Linked DNA regions of Homo sapiens: region 1 is linked to region 2. The links are contacts of gene promoters, found by promoter capture Hi-C in human tissues and cell types (Jung and others, 2019). All regions are on one chromosome and are shown on one strand. The core of a region is centred on a gene start or on the middle of the fragment in contact, and the rest is flanking DNA. Distances in the headings are between cores, read along the strand shown.

What was found. The method cuts DNA at HindIII sites, captures the fragments that hold promoters and counts their contacts. A contact is called where the count stands out against the background at its distance.
Region 1: a contact is called between a fragment that was not itself captured here and the fragment with the promoter of ELMO1 in region 2, in 1 of the 25 tissues and cell types used here (lymphoblastoid cells).

Annotation. Positions count from the first base shown.
Region 1 is chr7:36,623,255-36,627,309 of GRCh38, reverse strand. The region is part of intron 6 of AOAH (acyloxyacyl hydrolase); the gene reads left to right. Among named protein-coding and RNA genes, the nearest start is that of AOAH-IT1, 25 kb to the right of the region's middle. The HindIII fragment of the contact is 3,291 bases long and covers 1,023-4,055 here.
Region 2 is chr7:37,446,616-37,451,119 of GRCh38, reverse strand. ELMO1 (engulfment and cell motility 1) reads left to right here and starts at 2,256. Exons shown (of 22, transcript NM_014800.11): 1 at 2,256-2,445. RefSeq lists silencers at 2,507-2,556, 2,567-2,616. The HindIII fragment of the contact is 6,371 bases long and covers 1-4,504 here.

The DNA of each region.
Region 1 (4,055 bases), core at 1,419-3,918, 820 kb after region 2:
TGTCTCATCCTTTAGCTTTCACCTTAAGATCACTTCTTCTGCTATACAGAGTTAGAAACGTTTTTTTCCTCTCTACATGCACAACCCGCTTACAGCATTTTTCACCCAGGACTATAGTTATCTTTTGATGCATTAATTTCCTTACCCATGTCAAGCTCCTAAATTGCAGGAACTGTAGGAACTGTATCTTGTACTCATCTCTGGTATCTAATATGATTCCCAGCACACAGCAGGGACTCCCAAAATGCCTGTGGAATGAAGGAATGAATGAATGAACATTTCAACATACAGCTAGATATTTCTAAGGATACATAAGGTATCAAGTTCAGATGCAATTCTGCAGAAATAATTTTTAGTAAAGTCAACAATGTCTTATTCAAAACCTTGGAGTTGCCGGGCACATTGCCTCATGCCTGTAATCTCACCATTTTGGGAGACCAGAGTGGAACAACCACTTAAGGTCAGGAGCTAAAGACCAGCCTGGGCAACAGAGCAAGACCCCGTCTCTATAAAAACAAACACAAAAACAAACAAACAAGAAGCCTTGGAGCCAGATATGATTTGAAATTCAGGTTTTTTATATTCTAGTAAAATAATCAATAATGCATATACCATAACCCACCTGCTATCCCTGGCACCTCTTGATCAATCACATTTATATTTCAGAGTGAAATATATGAATTTTCACACTAAGTATGATAAAGCTTACGAATTGCCCTATATCAGTTCAGGTCAAGTTTTGCTACCAAATGAAGTTGTTGCTAAGTTGAAAAAAATTTTGATTAGTGGGCTGTGAAGAAGGGATTGTGGAGATTACACAAGTTGCAATTTATGCTACTCTGAGTACCCAGTCTACCCACTCATGTCTAGAATGCATGGCTTTGGCCAGTCACTTGGGGCCTTTAAAGTAAGCAGACAAAGGTTAATAAATCAGCTTTCCAATCTTAAAGACCACTCTTTGTTCCTTCTTTCAAGGACAAACTCTCACCCCCAAGATAACAAAGGTGGGAGGGGATAGCTTTGGCACATGCCCAAACGGGACCTTTCCTGCAGCTCCTTTTTCTTTCTCAGGCTGAAAATATGGCTGTTTGGGTCTACGTCATTTCTGTCTCTTTCTCTCTCTCTCTCTCTGTTGATCTGTCTGTCTTTGTCTCTTGCTCTTGCTCTCTTTCTTTATCTTCCTTTTCTCAACTAGAAAAATACACGCTGTCCAAGAGGCCAAATACATACATGGGGAAAACTGCCTAGTCTCACAGAAAATGTGACCTTCAAAGCCTTTTCCAAAACTTTTCTTAAGAGTCACAGCTGATGTTGGATGACTGCAAGTCATTTGGTCCAAGCTTTTTCCGCATTTCTTGACAGATGATTAAAGTGAGAGAAAACCATTTGTAGTTCAGAGTAGACAAGGGATGGGGTGGATCTAGAAACCCTGGAGCATCAGAGCAGGAAGGATCCCAAGGATGATCTTGCCCTAGCTTCTCTCCTGCATAAGGGAGAGCAGCGTCACAGCCTCTGAGCCCACTCGGGAAGCTTCATTCCCCTCCGCTCCCACCATGGGAAAATCAAGGTGTGGGTGATCATGGGGGTGGAATTTGGCTACAGCCCACACCTGAACTGTTCCTGGACAATCTTCCACCTTCCCCAAGGCTGGTTCTCACTTTTCCTGTAAGTGTGGATGTGTGGAGTCAGCAAGTAGAACGTTTCTAATTTCCTGCTGGTGGCTCTCTCTCTGGCCTTGTTCAACCCACCCCACCCCAAATGGAAGGGGGAGGTGAATTTCCTCTTTCGGACAGCAGGCACTCATAATCACAGCTGCAAGCACTTTGTGAGGACCAATACTGGGGGCTTTTCATGTGGTTTCCCTTAATCCTCCCAATAAACCCTGTGAGGGAGCTGGCAGGAATCACATTTTACAGATTTAAAAATGAGGCTCAGGGAGGTTAAATAAACTTCTGAGAATTGCCGAGCTGGTGAGGAAGCGGTGGATGGAGCAGTGACTCCAACTGACTCCAGAGTCTTTACTGAACCACCATGCTCAACTCAGTATCTGGCAAGAGCACTTGAATTCAAAAGGATAATTCTTCTTGGAGACACTAAGAGGGAGCCTGCTGCCTTGTCCTTTCAGGGATCCAGCCTCCCCTGTCCCCCAGGGCAGGAATGTAGGAAGGACTAGTGATGAGACATCAGCTTGCAGCTCCCTCTTCATTAGGTCCACTAAGTGGCTATTGACTCCCCACACTCCCTACTTTTCCCTACCCTAACCAGCACTCACTCATCCCAGGGTCCTCCTCTCAGTGGTCCAGTCAGGAAACAGAGCTGTGCAAGGAGGATTTAATATAAGGTACCAGTTTAAAAAGTGCTAAAAAGGCTGAAACAGTAAAAAGAGGAAGGCAAGGCCCCCCGGTTATGAGGACTGCAGGAGGCAACCAGCATCCCTAGGGGGACAGAAGAAGCAAAAGGGAGGAGTTGGTGTTCTCAGGCTTGGGAGGCCACTTGCTGCGGGGTTGCTGGGGGCAAAACAAGAGGCCATGTTGGCCAGTCCTGGAGCCATGGATAAGGGGTCACCCACGGGTGCTGGGACCCTCAGGAGGGCCCACTGTGGCTAGAGGTAGAGTCACTGAAGGGAACATCCAGAGAGAGAAAGACAGAGCGGGAAACCAACTTCTCCGCTCCTCCTCCTGCTCTCTCTTGCCACCAGTGCCAGCTCCAGTTCCCAAGGGAACCTGGTAAGTATATTTTGCAAAATTCCCAGCCCCAAAAGTATAGAGTAGAATACAGGCTGTAGAGCCATAGAAGCTAATATAACCAGCACAGTGCCCTCCAGTGTTTGACCAAAGAGGCCTGTAAGCTGAACTTCTGTCCCATCCCAGAGTTCATAAGACAGGCTCCAGGCTGCCATTTAGGCTCTGCATGGTCTTGGGTTGCATTTATTTGCCTTGAGGTTCTCAGAACTGTTGAGATGCTCTTTATTCAAAAGACCATTTAGTGATTCCTATAAAAGGTTGTGTTACTCACTGTAAATTCTCGGCTCCAAAGAAAGCCTCATCTTGCCATTAATGGTGGAGGGTGTCCAGGTTCTTGGCATCTTGAACAAAGAATTGGATGAAATGCACAAAGCAAGGAAGGAATGAAGGGATTTATAGAAAATGAAAGTGCACTCTACAGTGTAGAAGCAGGCCTGAGAATAGGGGCTCAAAGGCCCTATTACAGAGTTTTTGTGAGTTTAAATATCCTCTACTTGGGGTATGCCCTATGTAAATGAAGAGGATGAAGATGAAGTAAAGTTACAAAGTCATTTACAGCGTATGCCCTATGGAGAGGATATTTCCTGTTATAGCTGAAGTGTGAATCGGCCTTATGTTTCCTGCCTCCAGACCCTATTTTCCTGCCTCATTGCCATATGACTGCATTATTCTGCTACTGTGTAAGTGATTTTCTAAACCCAAGGCAGTCTTTGACATTGAGAAGCTGGGAAAAGTCTGGTGGTGAGGATTCCACAGGGGAAATCCTCCCTCATGGGATGTCCATGGCTTTGGCATCAATTTATTTCGTCATCACATCAGGGTCCTTGGCTTCCAAGACTCATGAATGGGAGTGAAAGTTGCCAGCTAATATCAGCTAAATGGTCAAGATTCTCAGGATAAGTGATTGAAAAGAGTAAAATTTTAAGAAAAGATTTCTATAACAATGTGCAAAATGGCAAAAATTCAATTTGTAGTGCTGAGTTCATTGACTGAACTCAAAGTGCAGTCTCATATTTCCTGGGAATCTCAACATCAATACCCCTTGCCCTTTAAAATTTCACTTCAATTATTTCACTTCCTCATACAGGCCAAGTTAATATCAGACAGAAAACAGTTCTGTTGGGTAAAGAGCAGAGATTGGCAAAGTTTTGCTGGCTCTGTCTGACACCACACAGGATCTTAATTTTCTGTTTAGAATGGCCCTCTGTGGCATAAACTCAACAGAGCTGTATCAGAAAATGTCTCTCTATTTGTTTTCACCAACACTGTTACTTTTTTTGTTAGCTCACCGATTGTTTTGTTTTCTTTTTC
Region 2 (4,504 bases), core at 1,007-3,506:
GGCATCTTAATATTTTAATGTAATCCATGGATATGGGGAGACACTGGATGCCTGAATTAAATCCTAAGGGACTTAGAGAAAGTGGATCAGGAACTTTGGTTCCAAAGATCAACTCCATGTTCCCGCACATGGCCTAACCGTAACACTGTAAAGAATTTCCAGTCTTCCCCTTGCACTCCTATCAACACTGAGATGTATTTGAGAAAAAAAAAAAAAGAGAGAGAGAGAGAAGATCTCAGGCTGTATTGTGTTTGCTAATGGTTAATTACGTAATTAATCTATAAGACTACTTTTTTTTCTTTTTTTCTTTTTTCTTTTTTTTTTTTAAAGGGCAGAGACAGATATTCTTCTGGGAGAAGATGGCTCAAATGAGAGAGACTTGAAGCCATGTCACATGAAGAAGAGTCAGAATAATTGAGGATGGTTAATCCTCAAAAGAGAGTGTTTAGGTAAAATTTGAGGGCTGACTTCAAAGATCTGAAAGACTACTTCATGGAGGAAAGATGTGAAGACCCGGGACCAAAGGTTACAGGGGAGTGGATTTGCATAATTGCTGTGCAAGGAGGGAACAATTATGACAGCTAATGTTTACTGAGTGCTCACCACGCATGCACTAAAGTTAAGGTCTTTATATGCCTTAGCTACAAGGTTGTAGATCAAATTCATACTTATCACTACAAGTGTCTCAGAGCATCGTTAGTAAAGGCTCCATTTACTGACTACTTATTAAATTACTTCATTTAATAGTTGGTGCTATTGACTTTTGTTATTATATCATTACTGTTTTATAGATGAGGAAATACAGAAGTTAAGTTGCTTTCCTGCAGTCACCCTGCTTTAGTTACTGGCTTATAACCATCTGGACCCAGGCACTCTTGATACTAATACTGCCTCCCAGAGTCATGCGTATAATAAGGAGTTAGATCAGAGCTGTTCATTAAAAGTATAAGGTGAGCCACTAATGAGAGCCTATGTGTAGCCTTACATTTTCTAGTAGCTACATCAGAAAATGTAAAAAGAAACTGGTGAAATTAATCTTATATATGCTTATATCTTAACCCAACACATGACGAATCCAACTGACTTACTACATCAGACTATTCTCATGTATTGCAATAATGTAATCAACATAAACATACTTAACAAGTTAGTTTACATTCATTTTAAAAATACTGAATTGTATGTCTGTTTTACACTTACAGAACATCTCAGGGATAGCCACATTTCAAGTGCTCAACAGCTGCCTGTGGCTCTTGAGGGGGAAGATCTTAAAAGGGAGCTTAGTTTTCCACCTTGATTCTGATGCCTCCCTGCCCCCGACTTATTTCCTTTGCCAATTAGAAGAAAATGCCGAACTGCCTTTGACTTTTCCGGTAGAGCCAATGTAGGTATTTCTGAACTGGGGGAGGACAGGTGGTTCGCCTGCAACCCTCTTCCCTCCTGCCAGCTAGGCTGGGAGTTAACGTTTTTGATTTCTGCTTTGAAAATGATTTAAGTAGGTTGCATGAATTAAGTAATTTATTCTAAATATCAAATTATGGGTGGAACGTCTTGCCTTATGCAAAGTTATGCAAAATTAGGAAGTCCCTGGCTTAATTGGTTAGAAATACATCTTGTAGTTTCAATTGCAGGGTTAGTAAATACATAGATGTCGACGGAGAGGGAGGAAACTTTTTTTTTTTTTTTTTGCCACTCTGTCCAAGGGTAGAGGCACAGCGTCAAAACAAACACGTCTTAAAGTAGCGTTCAAACAGCCCACCGAAGTTTCCCCTTAATATCCGGAACCGGTTGCCAAAAATTAAAAAAGGATGTGAAAAGATGCTACTCGCTTTTGGCCTCCCGGAGATGGCGCTATGAGGGTGACGGAGTTAATTAGTGCCTCCAAACGCCGTGTGTGAGCTCATCGAAGTCATGCTCTGCACACATATTATTTATAGCAGATCTGAGGCATGCATGGTGTTTGACATTTCTGTCTTTTAAGTAGGGGGACTTCAAAAAGTCGTGGGCATCCCCCTAGGCAAAGTGCAGTGGGCAGGGACCAGGCAGGGTGCGGGCGCAAGGCGAACGCGCAGACCACGAGTGTCCTGGCGCAGGTGCCGGGGGCGGCGGCTGCAACTCCGCAGCGTCCGCTCGGGAGGAGAGTTCGCGGCTGATCTCCGGATGCCTTGCAGATGCAAAATGTGTCTCTGGCCAGCAGGAGGAAGGAAGAGGAAGTGAGAGCAGCGGCAGCCGGCGGTGCAGCAGCCGGCCGACCCAGAGTGTAAGTGCGTGTGCTGGGGCGAGCGGGAGCGGGCGAGGATGGGCACAGGATAGAGGCAGAGCCACCCACGCCGCCGCGGCCCCACGCTGGGCGACAGAGCCTCCAGTTCCCCTTCAATGGTGGCGGGTCGCCGGAGCTCTGATCGCCGGGAACCCTTGCCGCTGCTGTCCTGCGACCCCAAGCAGGTTCGTAAAGTTTCCTGGGCTGGCGCCGCGCCCCGACTCGCTGACCTCGGCGCGGCAGGGGAGGGGGCCGGGACTGGGGCCGGGAGGAGGCGTCCTGCTCCGGGGGACTCCGGGCGCCGCGGAGACACTTTTGTTTCCTCCCTGGGGGCGCCGCGGCTCGGGCGGGGGTGGCCGCCGCGCTCGGCAGGGTGAGGGCTGCGGGCGCGTCGGGGCGCTCTGCAGTTGGGGAAGTCTGAGCTCCGGGGATGGCGGGAGTGGGAGTGGGAGCGGAGGGAGGGGGCGCTGGAGGTGCGGCGCCCGCGGATGAAGCGCAGGGCCCGGGGCCCGGGAGCCCGCCGAGACATTTCGACCAGGGTCTGCGGGAGGGGGGGCGCGGGAGGGTTGCGACGCTGGCGCGGGGTTACTGGGGACGGGGGATGTGGGGCTGGGATCTTGGAGTCAAGATTCCTATAGAGCTAGAGAAGCGGCTGCGGCTCAGACTCGGCGTCTTCTCCTGCACTCGGGGATGGGAGGGAATCCCCCGGCGAGCGCGCTCGTGGGAGGGGGCGGTGATGGGCCAGAGGAATGGGGGCCAGGAGGGCCGGAGAGGGCGGTCTGGGCAGCCGGGAGCCCCTGAGGTTCTGGTTAGTAAATACTCTCCTCCCGGGGACACACCGGGGTCTCCGCCGAGACCGAGAGAGGCGGCGGGGAGCTTTGTGGAGCTTCGTGGAAATCTCGGCTTCGGAGAGGGGACGCACCGGGCGCGCCTTCAGAGAAGGGGGCGGCGGCATGCCAGGGGGCCCGGGAATCGGAGCGGAGAGTGGCGACTGCGATCGCCGGAGTCGCTTTGAGGAAGAGGAAATACAGAACTCAGCTGTCCCGGGGGTGCGCGCGTGTGTTTGGGGTTGGGAAGTCGGTGCTGTGCCGCGAGCGCGCGCGAGGCGGCGTGTGTGTGTGTGTGTGTGTGTGTGTGTGTGTGTGGTGTGTGCGCGCGCGCGTATGTATGTGTGTGTGGTGTGTCGTCGGTGTGTGTGTGAGTGTGTGTGTGTGGGGGGGGTGTTGTGGGTGTGTGTGTGAGTCGGTGTGTGTGTGTGTGACCGCACAGCCAGGAACTCCCCGCCCAGTGACCCTCTCCCGCCTAGGGGGCCATTTGAAGTTGGAGGCGGGTCGGGACCTGCCTTGACCTAAAGGACCAGCCTCAGGCTTGGTCCCAGGTAGTGACCCAGCTCTGAGAGTCCCTGGACGGCTCCCGAGACTCAGTGAATATATTTGGGATGCCCCCCGCGCTGGATCATGGGCTTCCCAACACCGCTGGCCTTGAATGATTCGGGCCTAATTCGTTATGGTTAAGATTTCAGATAATCTAAGACGGGTTGAGGCCTCCAGAAGCGGAGGCTTCCTGTTGGGCGCTGCCAGTGACTTGGGGATGAAGCTATGGAAGAATATCTGAGTGTTTCTCTTTTGCTTCTATAAAAGTAATTAATGACCTGTATTTACACACCAAAACCCTGCGAGCAACTTTGGGACATAGAGGGATATAATCCTTCTCAGAATCACTTTGAGATTGCAAAAACCGGCAGCAGCTATTATTGGGGTCTCCTCTGGCCAGGGTTCTCATATTATCTCACCTCCATGCCTACTTTCCAAGGTTGTTTCAAGCATTAATGTCCCATAATTTACAGATCTGGGGGAAAATAATGGTAAGTTAGGAGGCCAGATCCCCTGCAGAAACATCACATATTTTTAATTTTTCTTATAGCTGACCTTTTGAAGCTTTACTCTTTATTATTGTACATTTCCTATCTCTGGAAGGCTGTGGTTAAATGTGCATGCTGCCTTGTTTCTACTCTGTTTTGTTTGTTTTTATTAGGTTGGTAAATTTTGAGAAAATGACCTGGACTGCTGGGACTCTTGGGGAGGGGTTGTGTCAGGAGGGTACTGAACTGGAGAACAAGAAGTATGGTAGGTATCAGGGAGGGGCAGGCTCGGAGGCAGACCCGGATGGGAGTCTGGGGAAACTCAGGGCCTGGAGCAGTCATTGGGCAAGAAGATGGGCAGTTCTAGTGATGGTCATGCTTAC